Linked DNA regions of Homo sapiens: all the other regions are linked to region 2. The links are contacts of gene promoters, found by promoter capture Hi-C in blood cells and fetal thymus (Javierre and others, 2016). All regions are on one chromosome and are shown on one strand. The core of a region is centred on a gene start or on the middle of the fragment in contact, and the rest is flanking DNA. Distances in the headings are between cores, read along the strand shown.

Evidence for each region. Contacts are between HindIII fragments. The CHiCAGO score rates a contact against its expected background, and 5 or more counts as called.
Region 1: a contact is called between a fragment that was not itself captured here and the fragment with the promoter of MCU in region 2, in 1 of 17 cell types (naive CD4 T cells). The highest score is 5.2, in naive CD4 T cells.
Region 3: a contact is called between a fragment that was not itself captured here and the fragment with the promoter of MCU in region 2, in 5 of 17 cell types (megakaryocytes, M0 macrophages, M2 macrophages and 2 more). The highest score is 13.1, in megakaryocytes.
Region 4: a contact is called between a fragment that was not itself captured here and the fragment with the promoter of MCU in region 2, in 1 of 17 cell types (neutrophils). The highest score is 5.6, in neutrophils.
Region 5: a contact is called between a fragment that was not itself captured here and the fragment with the promoter of MCU in region 2, in 1 of 17 cell types (fetal thymus). The highest score is 6.3, in fetal thymus.

Annotation. Positions count from the first base shown.
Region 1 is chr10:72,213,871-72,216,570 of GRCh38, reverse strand. It overlaps ASCC1 (activating signal cointegrator 1 complex subunit 1), which reads left to right and starts at 295. Exons shown (of 10, transcript NM_001198800.3): 1 at 295-364. It overlaps ANAPC16 (anaphase promoting complex subunit 16), which reads right to left and starts at 559. Exons shown (of 4, transcript NM_173473.4): 1 at 433-559. RefSeq lists a silencer at 468-657 and enhancers at 1-874, 778-897, 2,057-2,556, 2,557-2,700. The HindIII fragment of the contact is 667 bases long and covers 969-1,635 here.
Region 2 is chr10:72,690,663-72,693,700 of GRCh38, reverse strand. MCU (mitochondrial calcium uniporter) reads right to left here and starts at 1,558. Exons shown (of 8, transcript NM_138357.3): 1 at 1,400-1,558. The coding sequence starts at 1,549. RefSeq lists enhancers at 121-210, 1,881-1,940 and silencers at 971-1,060, 1,081-1,130, 1,221-1,680. The HindIII fragment of the contact is 1,146 bases long and covers 758-1,903 here.
Region 3 is chr10:72,374,897-72,377,839 of GRCh38, reverse strand. MICU1 (mitochondrial calcium uptake 1) reads left to right here. Exons shown (of 12, transcript NM_001195518.2): 11 at 1,968-2,057. Among named protein-coding and RNA genes, the nearest start is that of DNAJB12, 21 kb to the right of the region's middle. The HindIII fragment of the contact is 6,523 bases long and covers 1-2,943 here.
Region 4 is chr10:72,345,355-72,348,344 of GRCh38, reverse strand. All of the region lies in intron 1 of DNAJB12 (DnaJ heat shock protein family (Hsp40) member B12), which reads left to right. Among named protein-coding and RNA genes, the nearest start is that of DNAJB12, 8.1 kb to the left of the region's middle. The HindIII fragment of the contact is 5,386 bases long and covers 1-2,990 here.
Region 5 is chr10:73,093,528-73,096,609 of GRCh38, reverse strand. The region is part of intron 1 of P4HA1 (prolyl 4-hydroxylase subunit alpha 1); the gene reads left to right. Among named protein-coding and RNA genes, the nearest start is that of P4HA1, 1.8 kb to the left of the region's middle. RefSeq lists an enhancer at 1-363. The HindIII fragment of the contact is 1,464 bases long and covers 521-1,984 here.

The sequences.
Region 1 (2,700 bases), core at 53-2,552, 480 kb after region 2:
TCCATCATCAACAAATCGTTCCACTTCAAAACAGCTGGATTACAACCCAAACCAAATAGATGCCGCAGCTGTAACGGGGGGGGGGGGGGGCGGGAACGGGGCGGGGGTGGGCGTGGAGAAAAAGTGGCCAGAGAGGGGAGCGCTCAGAACACCAGCGGCTCCCAAGCTAACTCCTAGCCACTTTTCCCACCCAGCTGGGTCCCCAGGAAACTACGCCATCGGCGCTGTCCCACTGCGCAGGCGCCAGCCCTCGGCCCGCATGCGCACTCGGTCAAACCCGGCCTGGGGAAATTTCCTATCGCACGTCTGCTGCAGCAGTCTCCTGTTTCTCCTCCTACCTTCTCCATTTTTCTAGTCCCTGCAGGTAGGATCCTGGGGGTTAACTCCCTTTTCACCAAGCTCCCGAGGGCCCTCGACCCCTCGGCCTCTTACCTCAGCGGCTTTAGCACTTTCCCCTACAGCCCCACCCCCAGGACCAGCCTGAGTGGCTGCGCTCACCACGACGAGGACCGCGGCGTGTTCGCCCCCCAACAGACGGAGCCAGCGGCGAAGGCGGCGTGCGCGCGCCCGTGCCGTGGTGGGCGTGGCCGGGGCGGAGACGCGAGGAGGGGAGCAGAGAACGCGCTCGCGTAGAGGAATTCCGGGTCCTCCTCCTCGCCCTACCTTGGTTTACCTGCAGCCGCCTAGTCCTCTTCTCCTTCTCTTTGATGATTCAGGGCCTCGGCTTCCCTCACGATATTGCAGAAAGACACAGCTTTCCTCTTCCTCTCCAAACCACCTCGAAGCAGGGTTAAGTTGGTTATTCCTCTCTTTCCTTCCGAGCAGTCTCGTAGCGCAGGGCCATGTAGGACAGGTAGATGCTGCATTTGCTGTCTCCGCGACAACTGCCTGTTCTTCCGGAGCTCGTGGTCTGAGGGCCCGACTTTCATCTTAGTCTGTTTTTGTGGGGAACATTTTTTTTTTAAGCTTTTCCTTTGAAAGTCTTTTTTCGTTGAGAACTTTAGAGGCCTCGGGGAATAGGCCACTGGGTTGTGATGTCATCGAGTATTGCTAATGATGTGCCCTTTTCCTCCATCCATGTCGGTTTACCTTCTGTGTTGTTATTTCTCACGAAACCTCTTCTTGGTTCTGTAAGCGCACAACTCATCAATTATTATTTTATTTATTTTTTTGAGACGAAGTCTCGCTCTGTCGCCCAGGCTGGAGTGCAGTGGCGCGATCTCAGCTCACTGCAACCTCCGCCTCTCAGGCTTAAGCCATTCTCGTGCCTCAGCTTTCCCAGTAGTTGGGACTACAGGCGCCCGCCACCACACCCGGCTACTTTCTGTATTTTCAGTAGAGACGGGGTTTCATCATGTTGGCCTGGCTGGTCTCGAACTCCTGGCCTCAGATGATCCGCCTCGGCCTCCTAAAGTGCTGGGATTACAGACGTGAGCCACCGCGCCCACGTTGGCTTGAACATTAGTGTATTTAGTAAGGATCAACTTGTTTTCTTTGGAACTTTTAAGTATTTTGGGCTTCAAGACTATCTAAGCTGTACGTGGTAGGAATATTGGTTGAATTTAACCTCAGCTAGCCTGTAAGGAACCTTTGTTTCCTAAATTATTGATTCATTAAGTGATGTGACCAGAAGCTTGGCTTCGCAGTGAGCGATGTGCATTTTGTTGGGCAGTGGCCTGTGGAAATTGGATTCCCCCCTTCAGCAGTATGTTGGTCTGAGAACCATATTGGTTAAGTTGTTATTTTAACTGTGCTTTAACAGACAACTGGAACTGATTGTTTGGTATGAATTTCTAGCACCTCTAAAAGTACTTAGGGGCTTTTTTTTTTCTGGATGGTTAAGTGTATTAAATATCCCTCATTGTCTTAATTATCTTGCTAGATAGAAAGAGTTTGCTGGGCGCAGTGGCTCACGCCTGTAATCCCAGCACTTTGGGAGACTGAGGCGGGTGGATCACCTGAGGCCAGGAGTTCCAGACCAGCCTGGCCAACATGACGAAACCCCATCTCTACTAAAAATACAAAAAATTAGCCGGGGGTGGTGGCAGGGGCCTGTAATTCCAGCAACTGGGAAGGCTGAGGCAGGAGAATCGCTTAAACCCGGGAGGCAGAGGTTGCAGTGAGCTGAGATTGTGTCATTGCACTCCAGCCTGGGCAACAAGAGCAATACACCGTCTCAAAAAAAAAAAAAAAAAAAAAAAAAGAGATATTGTGCAAATGGTTAGATAACCACTGAAGTTTGCATTTTACTCATTAGGTTAAAGTAATAAAGAGACCTTTATTCTCTCTTTCAAAGCCATGGACAGGCTGTGTTTATATACGGGCATTTATAATGCCTTTTATTTTTAATCTCTCTTTTTTTTGTTGTTGTTGTTGTTTTTTGAGAGACAGGGTTTCGCCATGTTGCCCAGGCTGGTTTCAAACTCTTGGGCTCAAGCAGTCCTCCTTCCTCAACCTCCCAAAGTGCTGGGAGTACAGGTGTAAGCCACCATGCCTGGCCCTTTTCTCTTTCTCTTTTTCTTTTTCTTTTTTTAAGACGGAGTTGTGCTCTGTTGCCCAGGCTGGAGTGCAGTGGCGCGATCTTAGCTCACTGCAACTTCCGCCTCCTGGGTTCAAGAGATTCTCCTGCCTCAGCCTCCCGAGTAGCTGGGATTACAGGCACGTGCCACCATGCCTAGCTAATTTTTGTATTTTTAGTAG
Region 2 (3,038 bases), core at 309-2,808:
CAATATGCCAGTATGCCAAATAAAAAGAGGTACAATCTTCTCACAAGAATGAGGATAGGGTCCATACCTATGACTAATAATAACAATACAACCTTGCTTTTGCAGAGCATTAGGTCTTTTCATAGATCTTTCAGGCACTCGATTTTGATGCTGTCATTGGCCTTAGGAGTATCCTCTCCGAAGAGCTCCAGTTCAGTTTCCTCTTAAGAGTTATGATCAGAACAAGGCAGGCGATGTGTTTATTGAGGGTTGAAGGTACTATTGTAGTTTCTCCTATCAAGCTGTTTGCAGTGATCCTCCAATAATCACACTATACAACTCAGCCCCAGCAAATAAAACCTACATTCTTTCCCTCAGAGCTGGCCAGAGACCAACACATATAGGTCTAGAAAGTCCAAGGGAAGGAAACCTCCTGACTTGTTAGGTTAAGAACTCCATGCCAAATTCATCTCTTGCAATTGAAAAAAGAAATCTCTCTCACACTCTGTCTCTCTCTCTCTCACACACACACACACACACACACACACTCACCCAAGAGTGTTCAAACAGAAATCCTCTTTTTCTGCCAGCCAATGAAACCCAGCAACAACTGGTTAATACAACCACCAAATCTCTGCCTCTGTCAACAACTTACCATATTCGCTTCTCCTGTGCCTGCTGACCACCCTTCCCGCTTCAGGCACGCGTGAACACGCTTATACAGTAGCCCTCGAAAGGACCCCCAAAAGCACCTTTAAGGACCCAAGAGGATGAAGCTTGCCTCCTGAAGCAATGCAGCATCCATCTCGAGGGAGCCGGTTCCCCATGCACACACACAGAGGAAGTCACAGAGGGGAATAAAGTTTGATTTTCCTTCCTGCCCGACCCCTCGGGGACGAGAGAGGACGAGGGGCGGCCCCGCCGGGGTCCTGGGCTGCTCTCCGGGGCAGCTCCCAGCAGCATGGCACTGCCACTCTCCTGGCACACACAAGGCGGCCGCGGCAACTCAGAACTCCCCAACCCGCCCGGAGGAGGAGGGAAAGGGGACAACTTCCATCTGGCTCCGTTCAGGGAGCCTTGGGGCAGGGCTGTTAAGAACGAAGAAGGGAGGGAACGCGATTGGGGGCGAGTCGGGGAGAGGTTCAAGTCCCGTGCCTTCCCCGCCCTGGTGTCCCCAGTCCTGCGGGAACATCCCCGCCGTCGCCCCTCCTCCTCCTCTCGGCTTCCTCCCGCCCGCCCTCCCTTCCTGGTCGCCGCCGCAGGCGCCTGAAGGGCACGGCGGCTCCTCGGTGCCCGGCAACCTCCGGAGCGGCCGGGAGTTGAGGTAACTCGCCTGCTGCCCCGGCGGCCTGCCCGCCGGCGGCTCCCACACGCCAGCGCCGCCCCGCCCTCCCCGGAGCCTCCGGGCGCGCTCGCTCACCGTCCGGTGGTGCTGCTGCTGCCGGTGGCGGCTGACGCCCAGCCCAGGGAAGCAGCCGGCAGTCAGCGCCCCGCAGCCGCCGGCGCCCCCGCCGCCGCCGCCCCGAGAGGAGAGGAGCAGCAGGAGCGATCTACCTGCGGCGGCCGCCATCTCTCAACTGGAAACGGCGCCGACCCAGGCAGCGCAGCGGACGGCCAGGGCGGAGCTAAGACCCGCCACTCACCGACGCCGGGCCAACTAAAGCCCTTGACTGAGTTGATGAGGCGGGGCTTCCTGCAAGGTCCAATCGACAGGCGGGAGAACCACACTGGAAGCTGCCAGTCCCTTCCAGAGTTACCTATAGTGGGACATAGTCAATTACGGGCAAATTCTAGGGAACCCATAATTGACACCCAAACCCGTGAAAATAACAGCAATAGAGATGGCATGTTCAGTTCGGCTAATCTTCACCAACAATAGAGCTATGATAAGAGTAACGGGGGATATAGATATTTGTGAAAAGCTTTGTTCGAAGTTGAGTTCTAAGTGAGTGTTCTAAGTTGGCAAAATAGGCACCAAATTAATAACCATTAACGGTGTATGCTGTAACTCTCAACTACACGCCTAGAATTATCATTCATAACTGATAATATTTAGATATGCTGAAATTAACTCTACATCACGGAGTGATCTAATGACTGTGATGCGTAGCATAATATAGGAGAGGTAGAACGATTACAATATCAAAGTCCCAGAATGAGTACATGCCTTCAGAGTGAATTAACTGACGTGTATACATCTCAAATACCCAATTCATTTTTACAGCACCTTTATACGGATATTCTCACACTCTCCAGAAACAGCACTATTTTATCATATTTGACTTTGTGTGCATTTACAGAAACAGAACACATTAATAACGTAATAAAAAATCATGTAAGGCCGGGCGCGGTGGCTCACGCCTGTAATCCCAGCACTTTGGGAGGCAGAGGCGGGCGGATCACGAGGTCAGGAGATCGAGACCATCCTGGCTAACACGGTGAAACCCCATCTGTACTAAAAATACAAAAAATTAGCCAGGCGTGGTGGCGGGCGCTTATAGTCCCAGCTATTCCGGAGGCTGAGGCAGGAGAATGGTGTGAACCCGGGAGACGGAGCTTGCAGTGAACCGAGATCGGGCCATTGCACTCCAGCCTGGGCGACACAGCAAGACTCCATCTCAAAAAAAAAAAAAAAAATTCATGTAAAAGGCTATTTTAATGATGCTTCATAATTTTGCCGAAATAGTTATCAGAATACGCTTTGGAATAACAAACACTTTCTCTTGAAAAACACTTCTTTCCACTTAAACTCACAATGAGGGCTCCTTGAATACTGCCTAAGAAAGATTTTGGGTCCTGAATTTCCTTAGAAGAGTATTTCCTTGCTAGCTGTTTATTATTATGAGCTGATTAAATTCTCACACCTCTTTTTAAAATCTGGAGCAGGAAAATAGTTTGGGAAGCAAATACAAGCATTATTTTAAATTTTGGAAAACATCTTTGTAGTGTAGCCTTAGATGATAAATTTAAAACAAAAACAAAACACACACATAAATACGAAGAAAATGTTATCACTTATTCTAAGAATATTCTTTAAAGTTTGACTGAAATGGTACCTT
Region 3 (2,943 bases), core at 385-2,884, 320 kb after region 2:
GGAACTGAAATTATAGGAATGCGATAAACAAGGCACAGTGGTTCTAGTTTAAGTTCACTTGGCTTCTGGATGAATCTAATGTGATGATTATAGAGAGCTCTTCATTACCAGCATAAATGGAAATTAATCCTTTTCTTTCCCTCATATTTTACCTCACTTAAGAATGTGTCCAGAAGCAATAACATGATTTATAGGTGTAGCTAGACCAGGTTTGAGGATAAATGAGAGAGAAGGCAGTGGAAATTGCCTCGTCCTTCCTGTCTTGTCTTTCATGAGAACCCAATTCTAACATAATTGCTAGTGTTTGACGGTGAATGTCTGGGAAAGAGAAAACGGCAAGAGAAAAGTGATTTTTTGCTGAGGTCTAAAAATATATATTTTTTAAAAGAAAGATATGCATCCTGAACTATTGGCCGGGCCCGCTGAGTGTGGTGGCTCACCCCTGTAATCCCAGCACTTTGAGAGGCCGAGGTGGGCAGATCACCTGAGGTCAGGAGTTCAAGACCACCCTGGCCAACATGGTGAAACCCCATCTCTACTAAAAATATAAAAATTAGCCAGGCGTGATGGCAGGCACCAGTAGTCCCAGCTACTTGGGAGGCTGAAGCAGGAGAATTGTTTGAACCCGGAAGGCAGTGGTTGCAGTGAGCCGAGATCGTGCCACTGCACTCCAGTCTGGCGGACAGAGTAAGACTCTGTCTCAAAAAAAAAAAGAAAGATACGCATCCTGAACTGTTAAGACAAGGGCCAGTGCATATACCAATGGGCTCAGTTGGAAGAAGTCTGGTGCAAAACCAGTAGGGAGGAGGGACAGAGTTGGGCAGGGAGGGCTCACTGTGCAGGCACTTAGCTGTCATTCACCCACCAAGGCGTGAAGCCTTAGTGTACTCACACCACAGACAAGCCTCCTTGTTCCCACCACCCATTTATATATTTCTATAAATATATATATAAATATAAAAATATATATGGCATAAAATGTGCCATTATAACCATTTTTAAATATACAAGTCAGTGGAATTACATTAATTACATTCACAATGTTGTACAACCATCATCACTATTTTCAAAATTTTTCCATCACCCCAGACAGAAATTCTGTATACATAAAGCAGTAACTCCCCATTCCCCTCAGCCCACAATAACCTCTAATCTACTTTCTGTCTATAAATTGAATATCAGGCACTTTTTATTTTTTGAGACAGTGTCTCACTCTGTTACATAGAGTGTTACTCCAGTACAGTGGCGCCATCTCAGCTCATTGAAACCTCTGCCTCCTGGGCTCAAGCTATCCTCTCACCTCAGCCTCCCAAGTAGCTGGTGCACACCACCATGCCGGGCTAATTTTTTGTATTTTTTGTAGAGACAGGGTTTCGCCATGTTGCCTCGGAATCCCAAAGTGCTGGGATTACAGGTATGAGCCACCGCGCCTGGCCAGCCTAGGCATTCTTAATTAACTATATATACCTCCTAAACTGTAGCAGCAGTAGAAAAGAACAGAACTTGAGGTGAAAAGGAGGGAGCTTATGAATAAAAACTCAATTATCATTTTTTCTTTTTTTTTTTGAAACGGAGTCTCACTCTCCCAGGCTGGAGAGCAGTGGCGTGATCTCAGCTCACTGCAACCTCCGCCTCTCGGGTTCAAGCAATTCTCTGCCTCAGCCTCCCAAGTAGCTGGGATTACAGGCACCGGCTAATTTTTTGTATTTTTAGTAGAGACAGGGTTTCACCATCTTGGCCAGGCTGGTCTTGAAGTTCTGGCCTCAGGTGATCCACCCTCCTCGGCCTCCCAAAGTGCTGGAATTACAGGCATGAGCCACTGTGGCCAGCCTAACTTATCATTTTCTTAAATGTGACTTAAATGCAGTTGAAAACTTGTATTATGACTGAGTCGTTTTATCCCCTGAATCAGAGAAAGCAAAATGAAAATCCCTCTGCTGTGCTAATGCACCTCTTTCTTTTTTCAGTGACCATGCAGCAGGTGGCCAGGACAGTGGCTAAAGTGGAGCTCTCAGACCACGTGTGTGATGTGGTGTTTGCACTCTTTGACTGTGATGGTGAGTGGGGCCCTCTGGAGCCCGGAGGGGAAACAGCCTAGCTGCCCTTAGAGGCCCTTGTGTATAATGGAGCCTTGCGGACAGCATCTGTGTACCAGCCCATCCTCTTCAAGCTACCCACCTTTCTCACATTAGCACCTCAGCCCTTGGCATGATGATACTGAGAAATCGAACCCCTGGCCCTGGCTTCTGTTTTCCATTTCTTCTTCTTATAATTCCAATATGCCTATAGGCCTAAATTAATTTATGACCATAAGCATCTTAAAAATGGAAACAAAAATGTCAGACTCAACTTGCTACTTAGCGGATACGGAGCACTCAGGTATCTGAGTGTCTTTAGAAAGAAGGCAGTACTGATCTCTCCACCACCCAGGGCACATTCCAGCCAGTTGCATTCCATCTCCATAGCATTCCAGCTCCACACAGTGGTCTGTTGTGTCTGTGGCCACTCTGCTCTGTCATTTAGCCCATTCAAGAGATCTGGTTCTGGTTTGACCTTGGCATTATTTTTTAGGTATGGTAGCTGATATACTAATAACAACAATAACAACGGATGCTTACACTTTTTCAATGCTTACTATGAGCCAGAAAGTTAATCTGCTCATTTAATCTTCTGACCTAGGTATTGTTATTGACCACTTTTTACTGATGAGAAAGCTGAGACTCAGAGAGGTTAAGTAGATTTCCTAAGGTCACAAAGATAATAGTATTTGGGAGGCTGAGGCAGGCGGATCACCTGAGGTCAGGAGCTCAAGACCAGCCTGGCCAACATGGTGAAACCCCGTCTCTATTAAAAATACAAAAATTAGCCAGGCACAGTGGTGCGTGCCTGAAATCCCAGCTACTCGAGAGGCTGAGGCAAGAGAATCACTTGAACCCGGGAGGC
Region 4 (2,990 bases), core at 63-2,562, 350 kb after region 2:
AGGCCTGACTGAGGTTTCGTGCCTGGAATAAATGGACACAGGGACCTGCTGCCAGAGACTTGGGCCCTTCCTCATTTAATCTGCAGGAACCACAGGCTTGTTTTTGCTTGCTTTTGTTTTTTTGAGATGGAGTCTTGCTCTGTTGCCCAGGCTGGAGTGCAGTGGCACAATCTCAGTTCACTGCAACCTCTGCCTCCCGGGTTCAAGCGATTCTGTGCCTCAGCCTCCCGAGTAGCTGGGATTACAGGCGCCTGCCACCACGCCGGCTAATTTTTGTATTTTTAGTAGAGACGGGGTTTCACCATGCTGGCCAGGCTGGTCTCAAACTCCTGACCTCAGGCGATCTGCCCGCCTCAGCCTCCCAGAGTGCTGGGATTACAGGTGTGAGCCACCATGCCTGGTGGGCTTGGTTGTTTTTGTTTTTGTTTTTCTGAGACAGAGTCTCATTCTATTGCCCAGGCTGGAGTGCAATGGCATGATTTCGGCTCATTGCAACCTCCGCCTCCCAGATTCAAGCCATCCTGCTGCCTCAGCCTCCCTAGTAGCTGGGATTACAAGCGCCCACCACCATGTTCGGCTAATTTTTGTATTTTAGTAGAGACGGGGTTTCACCATGTTGGCCAGGCTGGTCTTGAACTCCTGACCTTGTGATTCGCCCGCCTCGGCCTCCCAAAGTGTTGGGATTACAGGCGTGAGCCACAGCGCCCAGCCGGGCTTGGTTTTCAATAGCCATGATGCTGCCGAGGGTGATAGTTAATGTCCTGTATAGACTCCAGACATTGAAGAGGACATTTGGCATGGCCAACCACTTGCATTAGAAAAATGTGAAAAATAGCAAGTTGTGAGCACAGCAGATACTTCTTTTGGTCTCCTACCATCTGTGTCCCCCTTGGGCAAACTCATTTCCCCCATTCCTCTTTACAGCTAAGCAAAGGCCTCCAGGAAGGCTTCCTGACTGATCCCACCTGAAACAGAGGGTCCTGCTAAGCGGGGTCCCCTTTGCAGGGTACTTTTCCCAGCTTGGCACTCAACATGCCAAGTCTGTTAAACTCACTACTTTGAGATCTTAAAAATCTGAAGGGTTGACTGGGCACAGTGGCTCATGCCTGTAATCCCAGCACTTTGGGAGGCCAAGGCAGGCGGATCACTTGAGGTCAGGAGTTCGAAACCAGCCTGGCCAACATGGTGAAACCTCATCTCTATTAAAAATACAATTAGCCGGCGTGGTGGTGTGCACCTGTAATTCCAGCTACTTAGGAGGCTGAGGCGGGAGAATCGCTTGAAACCGGGAGGCAGAGGTTGCAGTGAGCTGAGATCATGCCATTGCACTCCAGCCTGGGCAACAGAGTGAGACTCCGTCTCAAAAAAGAAAAAAAAAAAAAACCAATGGTAAAAATAGGGAGTAGTGCAGTGGACTGAATATTTTACTTATTCAAAATGTGGTGCAATGCAAACATATTTGCAGATTTGAATGAGTTCAGTAGAAAAAAATGGATTCATAAGTTGGATTCATAAAAGCAAAAAGCAGAGTAAAACCAAATACACTGAAAGAAATAGCAATTAAAGTAGTATTAAATGAACTCTAGCAAGGCACGGTGGCTCATGCCTGTAATCCCAGCACTTTGGGAACCCGAGGTGGGCAGATCACTTGAGGTCAGGAGTTCGAGACCAGCCTGGCCAACATGGTGAAACCCCATCTCTACTAAAAATACAAAAATTAGGCCGGGCACGGTGGCTCACACCTGTAATCCCAGCACTTCGGGAGGCCGAGATGGGTGGATTGCTTGAGGTCAGGAGTTCAAGACCAGTCTGGCCAACGTGTTGATATCCCATCTCTACTAAAATACAAAAATTAGCTGGGCATGGTGCTGGGCGCCTGTAATCCCAGCTACTAGGGAGGCTGAGGCGGGAGAATTGCTTGAACCCAGGAGGCGGAGGTTGCAGTGAGCTAAGATCATGCCACTGCACTCCAGCCTGGGCAACAGAGCAAGACTCCGTGTCAAAAAAAAAAAAATTAGCCAGGCGTGGTGGCACGTGCCTGTAGTACCAGCTACTCAGGAGGCTGAGGCATGAGAATCACTTGAACCTGGGAGGTAGAGGTTGTAGTGAGCTGAGATCGCACCACTGCACTCCAGCCTGGGCAACAGAGTGAGACTCTATCTCAAATAAACAAACAAATAAAAAAAAATAACTCTAAATAAAGTACTATAGGGTTTATTAATAAAACCAAGTGTGCTTTTGGAAGACTATCAGAATATCAGAATTCTGCCTAAATTTATTAAGAAAAGAGATATATGTATAAGTATACTATCTGAAAAATAAAGCAATTACTACAGATTTATCCATGAATTATGTAGAATTTTATGTCAATTTTTATTAACAAAATTAATTTTGTTCATGTAAAACGAAAAAGACCTCTATCCTGCCTACTTTTTTTTTTTTTTTTTTTTTGAGACAGATCCTTGCTCTGTCGCCCAGGCTGGAGTGCAGTGGCACAATCTTGCTAATCTCCACCTCCTGGGTTCAAGCAATTCTCATGCCTCAGCCTCTCAAGTCTCTCGAGTAGCTGGGATTACAGGCGCCCACCACTATCTCCAGCTAAATGTCTTTTGGGGTTTTTTTTTTTGTATTTTTAGTAGAGATGGAGTTTCACCATGTTGGCCGGGCTGGTCACAAACTCCTGATCTCAGGTGATCCGCCCGCCTCAGCCTCCCAAAGTGCTGGGATTACAGGCGTGAGCCACTGTGCCCGGATTTTTTTTTTTTTTTTTTTTTTGAGACAGGGTCTCACTCTGTCACCCAGGCTGGACTGCAGTGGCACCATCTTGGCTCACTGCAACCTCTGCCTCCCTAGTAGCTGGAATTACAGGCGCCCGCCACCACATCTGGCTAATTTTTTAATTTTTAGTACAGACGGGATTTCACCACATTGGCCAGGCTGGTCTCAAACTCCTGACCTCAGGTGATCTGCCTGCCTCAGCCTCCCAAAAT
Region 5 (3,082 bases), core at 3-2,502, 400 kb before region 2:
ACTCGGCCCCTCTCCCTGCGCCACGCGACTCCCGGCGCCCGCGCTCCTTCGTGCCCCCCTTCCCACCTCTGTCCCTAGTGCGCCTCGGACCGCTGGGGCTGCTGCAGCCTCAGTCCCCGCCCTAGGGACCAGGACTTTCTTGAATTTTCCTTCCCGGGGAGGAATCACTCTGTTGCTTTTTTTTTTTTCCAAGTTCCCCTGCACCTGGTCCTCCCTAACGAGGCTAAGGGGAACGCAAGCGCGGGGCGTGGGCTTTTGGCCGCCACAGCCGCAGATGGTTCGCATGTGGCGGTGGAGAGCGGATTTTAAGGCTTGGAGCTGGATCCGCAGCGCGCCAGGCATTTTTGCCCTATCGAAAGTCGCCGGGAGCTGGGGGGACCTCCCCAGAAAGTTCCGGCTGAACTCATCTGTTGCGCGCAGCGGTGCAGCATTAGCTGCCAGACGTAGCCCGGGGCGCCGAGCTTTCTGCTCGTAGCGCCGAGGAAGTAGGCTCTCAGGTCACCTCGTCGTCAGGGAAGCTTCCTTCCCTCTTCTTCCCCATAACTTTTTTTAAAAAGAGACAAGAGCTCTTCTCTCAATCTCTGTCTCTCTGTCTCTCTCTGCCGAGAATTTGCAGCTTTTAAAAGTCCACATCAGTCCAACAAATTCCATGGTTGTGTGAGGATTTTGAGTTGGATTACATGGCTGGCCCCCGGATGTATGTTTCAATGGGGAGGAAGGATGGTATGATAACTGTGAGACTCTTTCTCCTAAATAATCGACTCTGTTACATACAAATTCAATGTTTAGACACTAACATCTTACGCGTTCCGGATAGAGTGAAGACTCTTGGAATTTTGCACTGTTTTCTTTAAGAAAGGGTTGAAGAAGCAGCTAGATCCTCTTTTAGGAATTGATCTAAAAGGCCAAAGAGACTTGCCAATTTCCACTTAACTGTTTCTGGTTTCTCCGAGAGCAGTGGTTCTCGGACTTTCGCTTGGAATGCACTCGGAGGGGATGAAATAGCCACTACGTGAAGGGGGGAGGGGCAAAGACGTGGCAGCAGCGTTCTTTCATCAATTTTTTACTCTTTTTTTTTTTTTTTTTTAAAGTTCTGGTTAGAAACGTATTTCCCCTTTTAGGTTTAGACGTAGCTTATGAATGAGGCTAGTCTTTTCCTAAAATAATCAGATGAAGAATTCAGTCTGCATAGCAGGAACGTTGGAAGTTAATTTAAAAAACATTTTAAAGGGATTTTTAGAATCAAGTTTCTATGGAGAAAATCGGTATCCTAAGACGATATATTCAAGAAGCTGAAAGTGAACAACCTCAACTATATTTTGTCTTCATGTGAAATGTGAATACACACCCCGTGATTTTTTTTTTTTTTTTTTTTTTTTTTTAGCTTGTGAGCGTAATTTAAGAATCTGAAATGTGAACTTCAAATTTTACTTTTTTCTTTATGTGGGAAAAGAGACTTTATCACTTACCTTTAATAAAATTCATAGTCAGTTTTGGTTTTGGGACATTGTGCCTTAAGTCCTGCCATTGTTTTTGATAGCTGATGACAAATGTTTCTTAGATTTACATAGACTAACTAGGAAAAGGACTATTTCTGTCTCTTTTAAATGGGTAGTGCTGTTTTTATTGACATTTTGAAATGAGTTTTATTTTGAAGTACTGAAAATCAGGACTTTGGTAGGCGGATAATTACATTGGCCATTTTGTGTTTTGGTAACTTAGATGGTAAAACAGTTGAAAAATGTGTACAACTTTTAATTATGCCAAAAAAATTAGTGCAAAAGACTATTGAAAAAAAGTTTTATATTGCCTTGTAGTCTGGGTTGTTGCAGATGAATCTTGGCTTTTTGGCAAGGAGCTGTTAACCTTTTCTATTAGTGCAGAATAAGTTGTATACTGAAAAGCAGTGTTTTTCAGTAGGGCAATTAAGTTCAAACGGCATTTATTCCAGAGATGCAGCAAGAGCTGGGACAGCCATAAAGCTTGTGAGCCTTCCTTTCTGTGGAAGGAATGCTTTATTTTACTTAGCAACCAGTTATCAACTAGGATATAATTATTGCTCTTGAATTGACCTGTGAGATACATAATAGTGGTTCTCAAACTATTTTAAGGTCATGAAATCCTTTGAGAATCTGATGAAAGGTGTGGTCCTATGTCAGAAAATGCAAATACACCCTACATGGAATTTTGTATGTCACTTCCTGCCCCCCCACTCAAGTCCATTCATGAACTTTATTATAAGAACCCCTAAAAAGTAAGAGATGTGAAGTTACTCTCTAAGGGTATCTAGGTGTCTTGAGGCAGTATTGAATGTTTCTGAAAATCGAGCTGGGCATGTAAGTCTGACTGGACTTGTATATGTGGGTGACCCTAATACATTTTTGCCAAAAGGGTTTTAACAAAAGTTAATAGGTTGTTAGAATTGTTGAAATGCTAAATTGTCTAGTCTGTGAAAGTATATCACATTGCATGCCCTCTCCTATATATGGTAACTTAACTTTGGTTTTCCATTCTGAAAGTGGAACAGGCTTGGAAGTAAACAAAAATAAATTGCATAGGCTCTTGGCATTAAACTTTATTGCTTTTCTTGCAGTGAGATCTTGAATCTTGTAATTAAACCATAATGTGTTGTGTGTGTATAAATATATGAATATATATAAAAAATCCAAATAAAATGAGTATGTGTGTGTGTGTGTGTGTGTATATATATATATATATATATATATATATATATATTTTTTTTTTTTTTTTTTTTTTTTTTTTTTTTGAGATGGAGTTTCACTCTGCCACCCAGGCTGGAGTGCAGTGGTGCAATCTCGGCCCACTGCAAGCTCCACCTCCCGGGTTCACGCCATTCTCCTGCCTAAGCCTCCCGAGTAGCTGGGACTACAGCCGCCCACCATCACGCCCAGCTAATTTTTTGTATTTTTAGTAGAGACGGGGTTACACCGTGTTAACCAGGATGGTCTCGATCTCTTTACCTCGTGATCTGCCCGCCTTGGCCTCCCAAAGTGCTGGGATTACAGGTGTGATCACGCCACCGTGCCCGGCCAAAGCTTTGTGTTTCTATTCAAGAAAATTT